Linked DNA regions of Homo sapiens: regions 2 and 3 are each linked to region 1. Evidence: promoter capture Hi-C in human tissues and cell types (Jung and others, 2019). All regions are on one chromosome and are shown on one strand. The core of a region is centred on a gene start or on the middle of the fragment in contact, and the rest is flanking DNA. Distances in the headings are between cores, read along the strand shown.

Region 1 (4,445 bases), core at 74-2,573:
CCTTAGGGAAAAAGGCAAGAGGAAGAGGGAGGACTGGGAGGGGAGCCTGCACAGGTGGCTCCGCAGCCCCCCTGGGCCACCACACAGCCACGCTGACCTCTGGCATCATGGCCTCCAGCAGGCTGCCCACCCCTGGCTCCCCAGCGCTCAGGTCATGCCTGAACTGGCCCTCAGGAAGTGGGGGGTTCCTGGTGACCACAGGTGCCCACCCACCCCAGGGCTTCTCCAGGACAGGTGGGGGGAGCCAGGATGGACGAAGGCAGGGCAGGGGCAGAGCTGCACAGGGGGGACCAGTAGGAGGCGGGGCTGCCACAAAGAAAAGGGGGGCAGGGGGCAGGTGTGTGCAGGGCAGGGCCAGGTCAGGTGAGGCTAGGCAGGTCACCAGGGGCAGGTGTGCGGGGCAGGTGTTTGGGGTAGGTGGGGCAGGCTGGTCACCTGGGGCAGGTATGTGGGGCAGGTGTGCGGGGCAGGTAGGGCAGGCCGATCACGTGGGGCAGGTGGGGAAGGCTGGAAACGTCGAGCAGGTGTGCGAGGCAGGTATTTGTGGCAGGTGGGGCAGGCTGGTCACCTGGAGCAGGTACGTGGGGAAAGTGTGAGGGGCGGGTGGGGCAGGTGTGAGAGGCAGATGTGAGGGGTGAGCTAGTCACGTGGGGCAGGTGTGCAGGGCGGGTGGGGCGGGCGGGTCACGTGGAGCAGGTGTGAGGGGCAGGTGTGCAGGGCGGGTGGAGCGGGCTGGTCACGTGGAGCAGGTGTGAGGGACAGGTGTGGCGGGCTGGTCACCTGGGACAGTTGTGCGGGGCAGGCGCGCGGGGTAGGCGCGCGGGAACCGGACGAGGCGAGAGGCCGGCGGGCGCACTTGCCTGCGAAGGCTGCGGCAGCGGCGGCCTCGTCGGGGCCGGGCAGGGCCTCGGCGCCCATGTCCATGTGCCCGGGCTCCGCCGCCATCACCGCCACTGCCGTGACCCGCGGCGTCTCCCGCTCCGCCTCCGAGTCTGCGTCCTCCTCCGAGTCCTCGTCCCTGCTCAGCACCGGCTCCTCCGCCTCGCCTCCTGCCGCGGCCGCGGCCGCCGCCGCCACAGCGGCCGCGGCCGCCACCGCCGCCGCCTCAGCCAGGCCCAGCTGCTTTGCCGCCGAGTCCGAGTCCTCCATCCGGACTCCGCCGAGCCTTCCCGAAGGCGCCGTCCGGGACCGCCCGAAGCGCCGGTCGCGGAGCCCGAAGCGGGGCCCGAAGAGGACGCCCGAGCTGGGCCGAGGCCGCCCGAAGCCGCCGCCCGAATAGGGACCGAAAAGGCAGCCAGCCGCCGAGCAGAGCCGAGCCGAGTCCGCCCGCGGAGCGGAGCCGAGGCGAACAGAGGCTGCCCGAGTAGGAGCCGAACCTGCACGAAGCCGCCGAGCCGAGACCGAGTCCTGAACCGAGGAGGGTCGAAGTTCCCCGAAGTGGGAAGCCGAATCAGTCCGAATAGGTCCGAGTCCTCACGAGGGCTTCCGAGAGACTCGGCCCCTGCTCTCCTCACTGTCCTGACAGGCTGAGGCGGCTGTCGTCCCCGGCCGACAGGGCTGGACGGCTCTAGGCAGATTCTCGCCGGCGGCCGGCGCAATTCTGCCTCTCAGAGAGAGCTTAGTGCCGCGGGTTTCGCCCGTTCCCGCCGCCGGCGGAAGCCGAGTCAGCCCGAGGCCGAGCCGAGACGAGCCGAATGTCCCCGAGGCCGAATGCTCCCGAACGTCGGTTCTCCACCTCTTCCCTTCCGAAAGTGCCCGAGCGGTGCCGGACGGACTAATCGGGCCTCGGCCGTGGCTCGGACGTCCGCTCCCGAAACGCGGCGCGGTCGGGCCCCTTCGTCAGGAGACGCGAAAATGGCCGAAGGAGCGCGAGCGCGCGGGCCGAGAGGCTGCCGGGATCGCGACGGACCGGCGGGCGGGGCGGGTAAGATGGCGGCCCCGCGGCGAGGTGAGCTCGGGCGGGGTGGGGGCTTCCGGGCTTGCAGCGGCGGGCGCGGCGTTTCCCTGTGGTGACAATCCGGTTTCCGCTTTCGGTGCGCTCACGGGGCCGTGCCACCGTCTCTACGTGAGCGAGACAGCTCCGTCACCCCATCGAGAAGCGCGGCCTGGCCTGGCCTGGGTGGCGGGCGTCCTGCACCCCGAAGAGCTCCCCCGCGCGCGGGCGCCTGGCCCCGGGCAGGGTGGGTGCGGAGCGGCTCTGGGGGCCCCAGTCCCCGGCAGCTCTTGTCCCGCGCGTGGTTTTTGTGAAGACACGTGGGCGGGATGGGCGCAGGGTTTCGGTAGCCTTGGAACTCTCGCCAAAGAAAATCGCGGGCGCCGGTGCCTCAGCCGTCCTGCCTGAGAGACTCGCCTCCGAGAGGAGGAAGGGACAGACCAAAGCAGTAAATCGGCCATCCTGCAGAGGAGCCGCCTTCTGCTGTCTGTGGGTACAGCCAGAACTCCCATACGCGGGCGCTGAAGTGCCAAACCTTCGTGCGTGTTCTCTAGTAATTAGGTGCATTGTTTTGAAGGAATAAAGAATGGCTACTCCATAGGCAGGACAGCCTCTAGTAACCAGGTTTGTTTTGTGTATTTTCATTTGGTTAAAAATTAAGTTTAGGTTGGGCGCAGTGGCTCAGGCCTGTAAGCCTGACAGTTTGGGAAGCCGAGGCTGCAGGATCATTTGAGGCCAGCCTGGGCAACATAGCAAGACCCCCTCTATAAAAAAAAAACTGTAAACATCAGCCAGGCGGTGGCGCACCCCTGTGGGCCAAGCTATTCTGGAGGCTGAGGCTGGCGGATCACTTGAGCCCAGGAGGTCGAGGTTGCAGTGAGCCGTGATGGCGCCACTGCACTCCAGCCTGGGCGACAGAGCGAGACCCCCTTCTACAAAAAAAAAATTAAAAATTACCCCGGGGAAGGCCAGGCGCAGTAGCTCACGCCTGTAATCCCAGCACTTTGGGAGGCCAAAGCGGGCGGATCACCTGAGGTCGAGGGTTCAAGACCAGCCTGACCAACATGGAGAAACCCCGTCTCTACTAAAAATACAAAATTAGCCTGGCGTGATGGTGCATGCCTGTAATCCCAGCTACTTGAGAGTCTGAGGCAGGAGAATTGCTCGAACCCGGTGGTGGTGGTGGGGGGGGTGGGGTGCGGAGGTTGCAGTTGGCCAAGATCGCACCATTGCACTGCAGCCTGGGCAACAAGAGCGAAATTCTGTCTCAAAAAAAAAAAAAATTACCTCAGGGAGCCTGTGGTCCCAGCTACGTGGGAGGCTGAGGCTGGCGGATCACTGGAGCCCAGGAGGTTGAGACTGCAGTGAGCTGTGATCAGGCCACTGCACTCCAGCCTGGGCAACAGAGCAAAACCCTGTCTCTAAAAAAACTAAGTGTATACCAAAACAAGATTTCTTAACACATCTTGTCCATTACATCAGGGAAAACACTTGTTCTCTTTCACTTCCATGTTTAACTTCTGCCTGACACAGCTATTCGTAGCCACATTGTGATTATAGTAAGTCACTGACAAAAAATGTTGTCCTGAAAGCCAAGGCTACGTTCGGTCAGAATGAGCTCCTGCAGGTCTGGAATTGTTAGAACAGCGTATCTGGTTATAGCCGCCCTTCATATTAATTATTAAAATGTTACATCACTTAAGGCTTTTATACAGTTTTTCCCCCAAGCCCCATAACTTCAATCTATAACAGTGAGCAACTAGCAGACACATTGGAAGTGTTTAAGAAGCCAGCCTTTAAGAAAAGGAACAGAAGGGACAAAAACCCCAATTAATGCGAAATCATCACAGATAATGACAGGTATTTAGGTGGCCTGGTTTAGCTAAGGCCTGGAAAAGAACAGATCGGGTTTAAAGAGTGGCCTGCCGGGAACGCGATGCGGCGTGGTCTGCCGTGCACTTGGCTTCCTGCTTCCATCCTGTGGTGCCTCTTCCAGGAGCCCAGTTCTGAGTCTCTGATGCCGATGTCCTGTATTTACTGGCTTAAAACTCTTGCCTGTGTGAGATTCCACAAACTCTGGCACAGAAGGCCCCAGATCTGCCCAAGAAGCTGTGGGATCAGCCACAAAATCTCACCAACGCCAGGTTTCTGTCCTGCCCTCCCTGGCGCTGAAGGGGAAATAGAACAGAGGCTGTGTTCAGGTTGCTGTCCTGCCTGCCGCCCAGCGGTGCAGCTTGAGCCTCCTTTTATGAGAGGTTTCCACCCAATTCTAGATGTGTATTGAGGTATCTACACATGGAGGGACGTGCACATATCACACGTGCAACTGGCCTGAGCCCTTTTCAGACAATTAGTCCGCTCCAGGTCAGCGTGGATCCAGGGTGAGTCAGAGGCGTCTTCAGATGCAAAACCTCAGAATCAAAAAGGAGGAAAGAGACTCCACTCACTCCTCGGGCTTCCTGTCATCTCTCAGGTGGGGGTGGGAGAAGGCCCAAGAGGTTGCATGATAAAA
Region 2 (3,922 bases), core at 1-2,500, 450 kb before region 1:
TGGGCTGTGTTGACATCAAGGATCTACCAGGTAACCTAGGCCATTAAATCCATGTCACACAGGAGCATATTCTCCAAACTTAGCATCTGTGAGTTGCTTGAGGTGACAGTTCTCAGAAATTACTAAGGTGGGGCTGGGCACGGTGGCTCACGCCTGTAATCCCAGCACTTTGGAAGGCTGAAGTGAGTGGATCACCTGAGGTCAGGAGTTCGAGACCAGCCTGGCCAACATGGTGAAACCCTGTCTCTACTAAAAATACAAAAAACTAGCCAGGTGTGATGGTGGGTGCCTGTAATCCCAGTTACTCAGGAGTCTGAGGCAGGAGAATCACTTGAACTCGGGAGGTGGAGGTTGCAGTGAGCCAAGATTGTACCACTGCACCCCAGCCTGGGTGACAGAGCGAGACTCCATCTCATCCAAACAAAAAAGAAATTACTCAGATGGATTCATCCTGTTTTGAAGAAAAAAATGGGAAGATTTGTGTAACCTTTAGTTTCTACATTATATTTGTCTCCAGCATTTAATTTACATGAAAATGAGGCTAATTCCTCCTCGCTCCTTCACTGTCCCTTCTCCAGTCCCTCACTGTTACCTAAGCCACAGGTATTTGTAGGAAGCACCATGACGCCAACACCTTCTGAGCCCTCCCCGCCCACCCCTCTGCTGCAGAATAAAGGGCACGTGAAATCCCTGTAGCTGAGACCCTTGTTTTGAAAACTGAAATTCCAGACCCATGGGGACAAATTATTAAATCTTTCAAGGATTTGAGAGTGGAAAGAAAATGACCTGTGAGTTTTGGAAAAAGTGTAAGGAATATATGTTCAGAAAATAAATTTTCAGCATATTTTAGATGTTTCTCACAAAACACTGTTGAAGCTAAGGAGACCAGCAACTCTTAACAGTGTTGATGCAGTTTTTATTACTGTATGTCAAGAAAAATATATCGGAAAAGGAACTAAGGTGGTCAAGAGAACAATAGACTTGCTGTCTAGGAACAGAAAGTAAGTTAGTTCTGGTCTGAAAAGAAGCTAGGTTAGGTAACTTAAATTTATTCCTTGCCATAGCAGAAAAGAGATTTAAGGCACTTCCTGGAAGTGGCACAGCTGAAAATATGAATAGATTCACATATATTTAGGAAAAAATAAATGAATGCTCCTCCCAAAAAACCCATGTATATATGGTTCTTGGTATAATCTAAGTCAACCCAATACTTCAGAAGAGGTGACTAATGTCAAGGCTTTGTAATAACAACCATTACAAACAATGTTTTTTTACTTTTTGTTATATGAGATTTTTAAAGCTAAACAGGACTGATTATTATGACTGGATTGTAAGTGGGCCTGTGTTGCTACCATAGTGTCTGAGCAGCAGGAGAGAGCCTTCACGCTGGGGCTAGCAGGACTTCTCGGCGAGGGAGTTTTTAACTTTGGAGAACTCGTAAGTTGACCCTGAGCTCAGCTTCCTTAACGAGAGAGACTAAAGTGTTACTAGCTGACCATCTCCATCCTCACAGCTCATGCACCCTGTGCTGGAGTCCCTGAGGAATACTGACCGGCAGTGGCTGATTGACACCCTCTATGCCTTCAACAGTGGCAACGTAGAGCGGTTCCAGACTCTGAAGACTGCCTGGGGCCAGCAGGTAGGACTCCCACGATGCCCAGCCCTTATTCCCCCATGTATCTACTCGCTCATACAACAGATGTTCATTGAGCGTCTTCCCTAGGCACACAGGAAAGAACAGGGCAAAGAGGAGACCAAGATAGGCTAGTCCTTGCTCTCATAGAGCAGAGAGTTAAGTGGTTGGTTAGCTACAGCATTACTCAGTGCTGCAGACAAAGAGTGAGGGTGTTCTGAGAAAACAGAATCGAATGTGGGCCCTGCATCTACGCTGGGTGGAGGGGGTGTCACAGAAGATGTAGAAGTCATAGTGACCTAAGGTCTGTGTGACCTTAGGAATGAGTGAAGAGGTACGGGAAGAGTGCACTCAGCGGAGAAAACGGAAAAGTTTAGTATCTTTGCTGAACTGAAAGAGGGATGTGTGAGGCTAACATGAGTGGGTGGGAGAGAGCATGGGATGAAGGAGGAACAAATGCCTGGTGAAGAGAATGGGAGAGCGGTGGGTGCAGGGAGGGGGAGAGCGGCGGGTGCGGGGAGGGGGAGAGCGGCGGGTGCGGGGAGGGGGAGAGCGGCGGGTGCGGGGAGAGGGAGAGGTCCATGCAGGGAGAACAGCCAATTCACCTCAGTGCAAGGGGAGGGCAGGCACTGGGTGAAGTTGTCTCTGGAAGGTGGGAGTTAGGGAAAGGTGCTCAACAAGGGCTTGAGCTTTAATGATAAGTATGTTCTTTTTTAATGAGATTATTAGAAGTAAATATTAATAAAATGTTAACTGTGGTAGGAATTATGGTTATTTTTGTATTTTTCTGAAACTTTCAATTTTCTCAGTTTAAAATAAACTTGTAAAATTCATGCATAGTGGAGCAGGGTAGATATAGATGAAGGCACTGTGAAGAGGCAGAAAGCACAGATGCAGCCAGACCTAACTGTGGTCTGATTATTTATTGATATCTCAAAAAAAGGTGACACTCAGAAAGGAAGATGGCTAGTTATAGCAATTTAAAGAAAAAAAAAAAATCGTAGATGCATGTTGGCAGCATCTATTCAGGCAGCAAAGCCTGTCTGGAGGGGTAGTGAGCCCTTTACAGAGCTTGACCTGTCCAGTACTTGTGGCAGAAATGTCCCCATCGGGGCTACCTGTGTCAGGATATGAGTTGCTATTTGAATTAAAACAACAAGTCTCCTTGGTTTAATTCTGTGCTCACAGGTAACGTTTTGATCCATAAGAAGAGATGATGCATATCTTGCAGAAGCGTATATTCTAGTTCTCAGGACAATGATATTTTTCATTATAAATTAATAACTTGCTCTTTTGATTCAGAACAAGTCTCTAGAACTTAAGGAAGCTTTTCCTCAGAGGGGCTCCACTTGCACTGGCTCACTGAGCCGGCAGCAGCCCTTGAAAGAACCCCCCTGGGCAGTAGGGTGTATCCTTCCCAACAGCACCTTGACCAGGAGAGTCTTCTCGAAATGCCCGTACCCTGTGGCCCTGCCTAATGGTGTCTGTAGCATTAATACAAATCTTACCTTGTAAATTCCTTGCCTTGACAAAGTGTCCCAGTTAGGTGCGACTCTTTCCATTTCCTAAGAAGAATGAAGCTCAGATCACTTGTTGTTAATGAGCTTCAGCAGTCTGCAATGTGAAATGTTTGGATCTGCTTAGCTGGTTTTTGTTGGGTCTACTGTTATAGAACGAATTCCAGATCCCCAGTTAAGTAACTGATAAGCACAAACATGGAAGACATTTTTCTGTCTTTCTATACTTTACAGCCTGATTTAGCAGCTAATGAAGCCCAGCTTCTGAGGAAAATTCAGTTGTTGTGCCTCATGGAGGTAAGCGAACACCCAGGAGCCACTTTGTCTGTGGTTTCAGATTTTGGTCAGGTGGGGGCGCTGCACTCTCCAAGCCTGTGCTGAGCAGTGTGAGCTTTCAGTGGTGCTGCTTCTGCTGTGCGCCGCTCTCTTCACCACCTTCCTTTTCCTTTGCTACCACTTGCTCTTCTAAGTTTATATTTGGCTCTTAGCTCAGACGACACCCTCCCACCCCACTGCCACCACCCTGAGGCCTTCCCTGACCATCTGAACTGAGATGAAGTAGCTGCCCCTCTCCCCGTGATGCAGTTGTTGCCTCATTGCATGTCGCTTCTTGTGTACACGCACATCTGTCTTTCCCCACTAGAACTTAAGCTTCGTCAGGAAGTGGCCCTTAGATTTCTGGTTTGCCGTGGTCACCCCTGGTCAACCCTGGCAAATTGTGGCCTCAAGTACTTGTTCGGGGATTGAACAATGGCTACTGTCAGAAACTCCT
Region 3 (4,114 bases), core at 416-2,915, 470 kb before region 1:
CACGTCCCCAAAACATCACAGACTGCGAGTCCAGTCCCCCTCCTCGCCATCCCTCAGGCGACCACAGCTCCACCTTCTCCAGGACCAGCCTCCTGGCACTGCTTGCTCCACTCTCCACTCCCCAAAGGCCTCCCTGACCCCAAGGGTGCAGCTACGTCCCCGGGCCAGTCCCTGTGGATTTATCACTCCTCCCACTGCAGCATCAGTATTCCTGATCTGACCTGGGAGGCCCTGCCCCTCCACCTCGCCCCCACACCCCCATCCTTCTCCCTTCTCCTCACACGTGGTGCCCCACCCACACCTATACCACCTCCAAAGCCCAGCAGCTTCCCACCTTCCTGTCTCCTGCACAGGCTGCTGCTCCCTCAGCCTGGAACCCCAGCTGAATCCATTCACCTTCCCAAAGTGGCACCAGCCCTGGAAGGGCCCATGAGATGACTCCTGTACCCCTCCCTTCCCCTGCCCTCCAGCCTCCTCCCTGCACAGGCCTGCCGACAGCCCATGAGATGACTCCTGTACCCCTCCCTTCCCCTGCCCTCCAGCCTCCTCCCTGCACAGGCCTGCCGACAGCCCATGAGGTGACTCCTGTACCCCTCCCTTCCCCTGCCCTCCAGACTCCTCCCTGCACAGGCCTGCCGACAGCCCATGAGATGACTCCTGTACCCCTCCCTTCCCCTGCCCTCCAGCCTCCTCCCTGCACAGGCCTGCTGACAAACCTCCAGGGAGGTCCCAAGGATGAGCAGCAGATCTGCCATGGGGAAATCAACCACATGCAGCAAGAACCTCTGGGGCAGCGGCTCCCCAAAGAACACAATGTCGGGCTTCACAACGCCGGTGCAGACCGGGCAGCGGGGAACCCTGTCTGCCATCACGTCAGCCTGGAAAACAGAGAAAACAGGCCTGAGGAAGATGCCTGCAACACCCTGTAAAAGGAAAAGGCAACAAGTTCTTATTAAAGTCTCAAACATTCTCCCCCAAAAAAGGTGAGAGAGGGATCATGAACCCCCATGTACCCAGCTTCAGGAATTACCAGTTTTCATAGCTAATTGTTTCACAGCCCTCCGGAATCTGGGAGGAGGTATTGGAGCCTTTAAAAGCAAATCTTGGACATCATATGTTTCACCCATAATTACTTCGGCAGGCATCTAGCGTATCTAACACCATGCTCTATCCCTGGGATGGCAGCCAGAGACATCCAGGCGCTAAGGAAACACCTGGTAGACCACACCAGTCCTCAAACAGTAGTCTGCAGGCATTTGGCCTACACCGAACACTATTCAGTCAGAAAGGTGAAACTGTCTCTGGTTTGAGCTTCGGTGATCATGCCATTGCCTCAGCCCTGGGAGGCATTCAGGTCAGCTTCACTCACTGGCTGGCATTATTAGGAGTAACAACATCTGCCAAACACTGCTTCCTTACTGGCCAAGGTGAAGTGGACACAACTTCCCTTTGCGTCAAGATTAATATAAATAAATGCCTTGGAGCAGATGGAAAAGGGAGAGAGTTACAGAGGAAGACACCTGACTTTCTAAGGTAAACCTTTACAGCTAACGGGGCTTGTTTTAAGCAGGCTCAGCCCAGCAAAAAGCAACAGATACAAAAGACAAAAGAAAGAGACCCACGAAAGATTTCAGATATTCTTGGATACACAGTAAAACTGTATTATATTTAAATTAAAAAGAAAAAACTGTTATCTTGGAGGCATGGGGTATAGCAAAAAAAAAAATTAAGGAAGCAAAAAAAAAAGATGAACTTGAAATATCTATCAAAGGCCAGGCGCAGTGGCTCAGCTCTGTAATCCCAGGACTTCGGGAGGCCGAGGTGGGCAGATCACGAGGTCAGGAGATCGAGACTGTCTTGGCCAACATGGTGAAACCCTGTCTCTACTAAAACACAAAAAATTAGCCAGGCGTGGTGATGCGTGCCTGTAATCCCAGCTACTTGGGAGGCTGAGGCAGGGGAATCACTTGAACCTGGGAGGCGGAGGTTGCTGTGAGCTGAGATTGCACCACTGCACTCCAGCCTGGGCAACAAAGCGAGACTCTGTCTCAAAAAACAAAACAAAACAAAACAAAACAAAAAACTATCTATTAAAGATATAAAATTATTAAAAAATTATGTAATAATGTAGCAGACTTGAAAAATAACCAAATAGAACTTCTAGAAATAAAAAGTACAGGAACCAAAATTAAAACTCAATGTCTGTTTTGAGTTGCTGTTTGGGAAAAAAGAAAGAAAGAAACACTCAATGGAAGGACCTTATAACAGAATACAATATTAGTAAACTGGAAAAAAGACCAGAAGAAATTACCCAGAATGCAGCACAAGAAGCAGCAATTACAGGACAGAAGAGTGATCAGGAACAGCAGGAGAGAGAAGGTCTAATGTATGTTCAATCAGAGGTCCCTAAAGAGAGGGGCCAGATAGTGGGCTAGGGGCAACTCATATCCGAAGAGATAACGGCAGAGTATGATCCAGCAACCATGAAAGACGCCAACCCGCAGATTCAGGATCTCAAGCAAGTGAGGGCTACTGAGCCAGCCTGAGGGTGCCCACAGGAAAAACATGAGTCACGGCACATCTGTGCTTGTTTCTGTCCCAAGAGGTTCTCAGGAGGTTTAGTAATTACATGTGGTCCTTCAAAGAGGGAGGGTGGCTGTGAGGTGAGTGGTTACGTACTTGTGAGACTTCAGTAAGTGCCCAGTAAATGTACATTTTACCTAAGATAGAAGGAAACAGAGGAAGAGAACTAAGCAGACCTCTCAGGGAAGGGTGAAGGAACCATTAATCTCATCTTGTCTTTAATCTGTATCTGGGAAGATAAACCAGTAATCCACATTAGCAGTGTAGAGTCTTTGAAAAGGGCTGGTTTCTGTTTAGCCCTTAGTGAAGAAGCCTAATGGTGGCTGGGGAGGGAGGGGTACAGTGAGGCGCGTCTGACCTCCTCTCCTGCTACGGCCAGGAACTCAAGCTTCCAAGGTTTCTCTGGGGTTCCCTTGACCAAGGGGAGGGCTCCATTCAGTTGGTTGCAGGGCTTAGAATTTTATTTTATATTTTATTTTTTTGAGATGGCATCTCGCTCTGTCACCCAGGCTGGAGTGCAGTGGCATGATCTCGGTTCACTACAACTTCTGCCTCCTGGGTTCCAGCAATTCTCCTGCCTCAGCCTCCCGAGTAGCTGGGATTACAGATGGGTGCCACCACAAATGGCTCATCTTTGTATTTTTAGTAGAGACGGGGTTTCACCATGTTGGCCAGGCTGGTCTCAAACTCCTAACTCAGGTGATCCACCCGCCTCAGCTTCCCAAAGTACTGGGATTACAGGCAGGAGCCACCGCGCCCAGCCTAGAATTTTATTTTATTTTTCTTAAGGAAGGCCTACAATTATTATTATTATTTTTTTTTTTTTGAGATGGAGTTTCGCTCTTGTTTCCCAGGCTGGAGTGCAATGGCCTAATCTCAGCTCACCGCAACCTCCGCCTCCCTGGTTCAAGCAATTCGCCTGCCTCAGCCTCCCGAGTATCTGAGATTATAGGCATGCACCATCACGCCCGGCTAATTTTGTATTTTTAGTAGATATGGGGTTTCTCCATGTTGGTCAGGCTGGTCTCAAACTCCTGACCTCAGGCGATCCACCCACCCGGCCTCCCAAAGTACTGGGATTACGGGCGTGAGCCACCATGACCAACTGGCCTACAAATTTTAAGCAGAAGAAATAAAAGAAAATTCATATGGAAAACCACAGTGGAGAAACCGCAAAACTCCAAAGACAAAAGTCTTAAAAAACAGGCAGAGAGGCCAGACACGGTGGCTCATGCCTGTCATCCCAGCACTTTGGGAGGCCGAGGCGGGTGGATCATGAGGTCAGGAGTTCGACACCAGCCTCACCAACATAGTGAAACCCCATCTCTACTAAAAATACAAAAATTAGCTGGGCATGGTGGCGCATGCCTGCAATCCCAGCTACTCAGGAGGATGAGGCAAGAGAATCGCTTGAACCTGAGAGGGGGAGGTTGCAATGAGCTGAGATCATACCACTGCACTCCAGCCTGGGCAACAGAGCAAGACTCTATCTCAAAAAAACAAAAAATCCAAACAACAACAACAAAAATAA

What was found. Contacts are between HindIII fragments. The study calls those that stand out against the background at their distance.
Region 2: a contact is called between a fragment that was not itself captured here and the fragment with the promoter of DEAF1 in region 1, in 1 of the 25 tissues and cell types used here (hippocampus).
Region 3: a fragment that was not itself captured here is called in contact with the fragment with the promoter of DEAF1 in region 1 in 1 of the 25 tissues and cell types used here (lymphoblastoid cells).

The regions. Positions count from the first base shown.
Region 1 is chr11:693,899-698,343 of GRCh38, forward strand. It overlaps DEAF1 (DEAF1 transcription factor), which reads right to left and starts at 1,324. Exons shown (of 12, transcript NM_021008.4): 1 at 861-1,324. The coding sequence starts at 1,149. TMEM80 (transmembrane protein 80) reads left to right here and starts at 1,918. Exons shown (of 5, transcript NM_001042463.3): 1 at 1,918-1,948. The coding sequence starts at 1,930. RefSeq lists silencers at 696-945, 966-1,085, 1,096-1,395, 1,896-2,315 and enhancers at 761-1,300, 1,301-1,842, 1,843-2,382, 2,923-3,462. The HindIII fragment of the contact is 41,051 bases long and covers 1-4,445 here.
Region 2 is chr11:247,419-251,340 of GRCh38, forward strand. PSMD13 (proteasome 26S subunit, non-ATPase 13) reads left to right here. Exons shown (of 13, transcript NM_002817.4): 7 at 1-30; 8 at 1,358-1,437; 9 at 1,514-1,639; 10 at 3,385-3,447. Among named protein-coding and RNA genes, the nearest start is that of PSMD13, 12 kb to the left of the region's middle. The HindIII fragment of the contact is 4,260 bases long and covers 1-3,380 here.
Region 3 is chr11:223,362-227,475 of GRCh38, forward strand. It overlaps SIRT3 (sirtuin 3), which reads right to left. Exons shown (of 7, transcript NM_012239.6): 5 at 717-878. Among named protein-coding and RNA genes, the nearest start is that of SIRT3, 11 kb to the right of the region's middle. The HindIII fragment of the contact is 4,124 bases long and covers 1-3,727 here.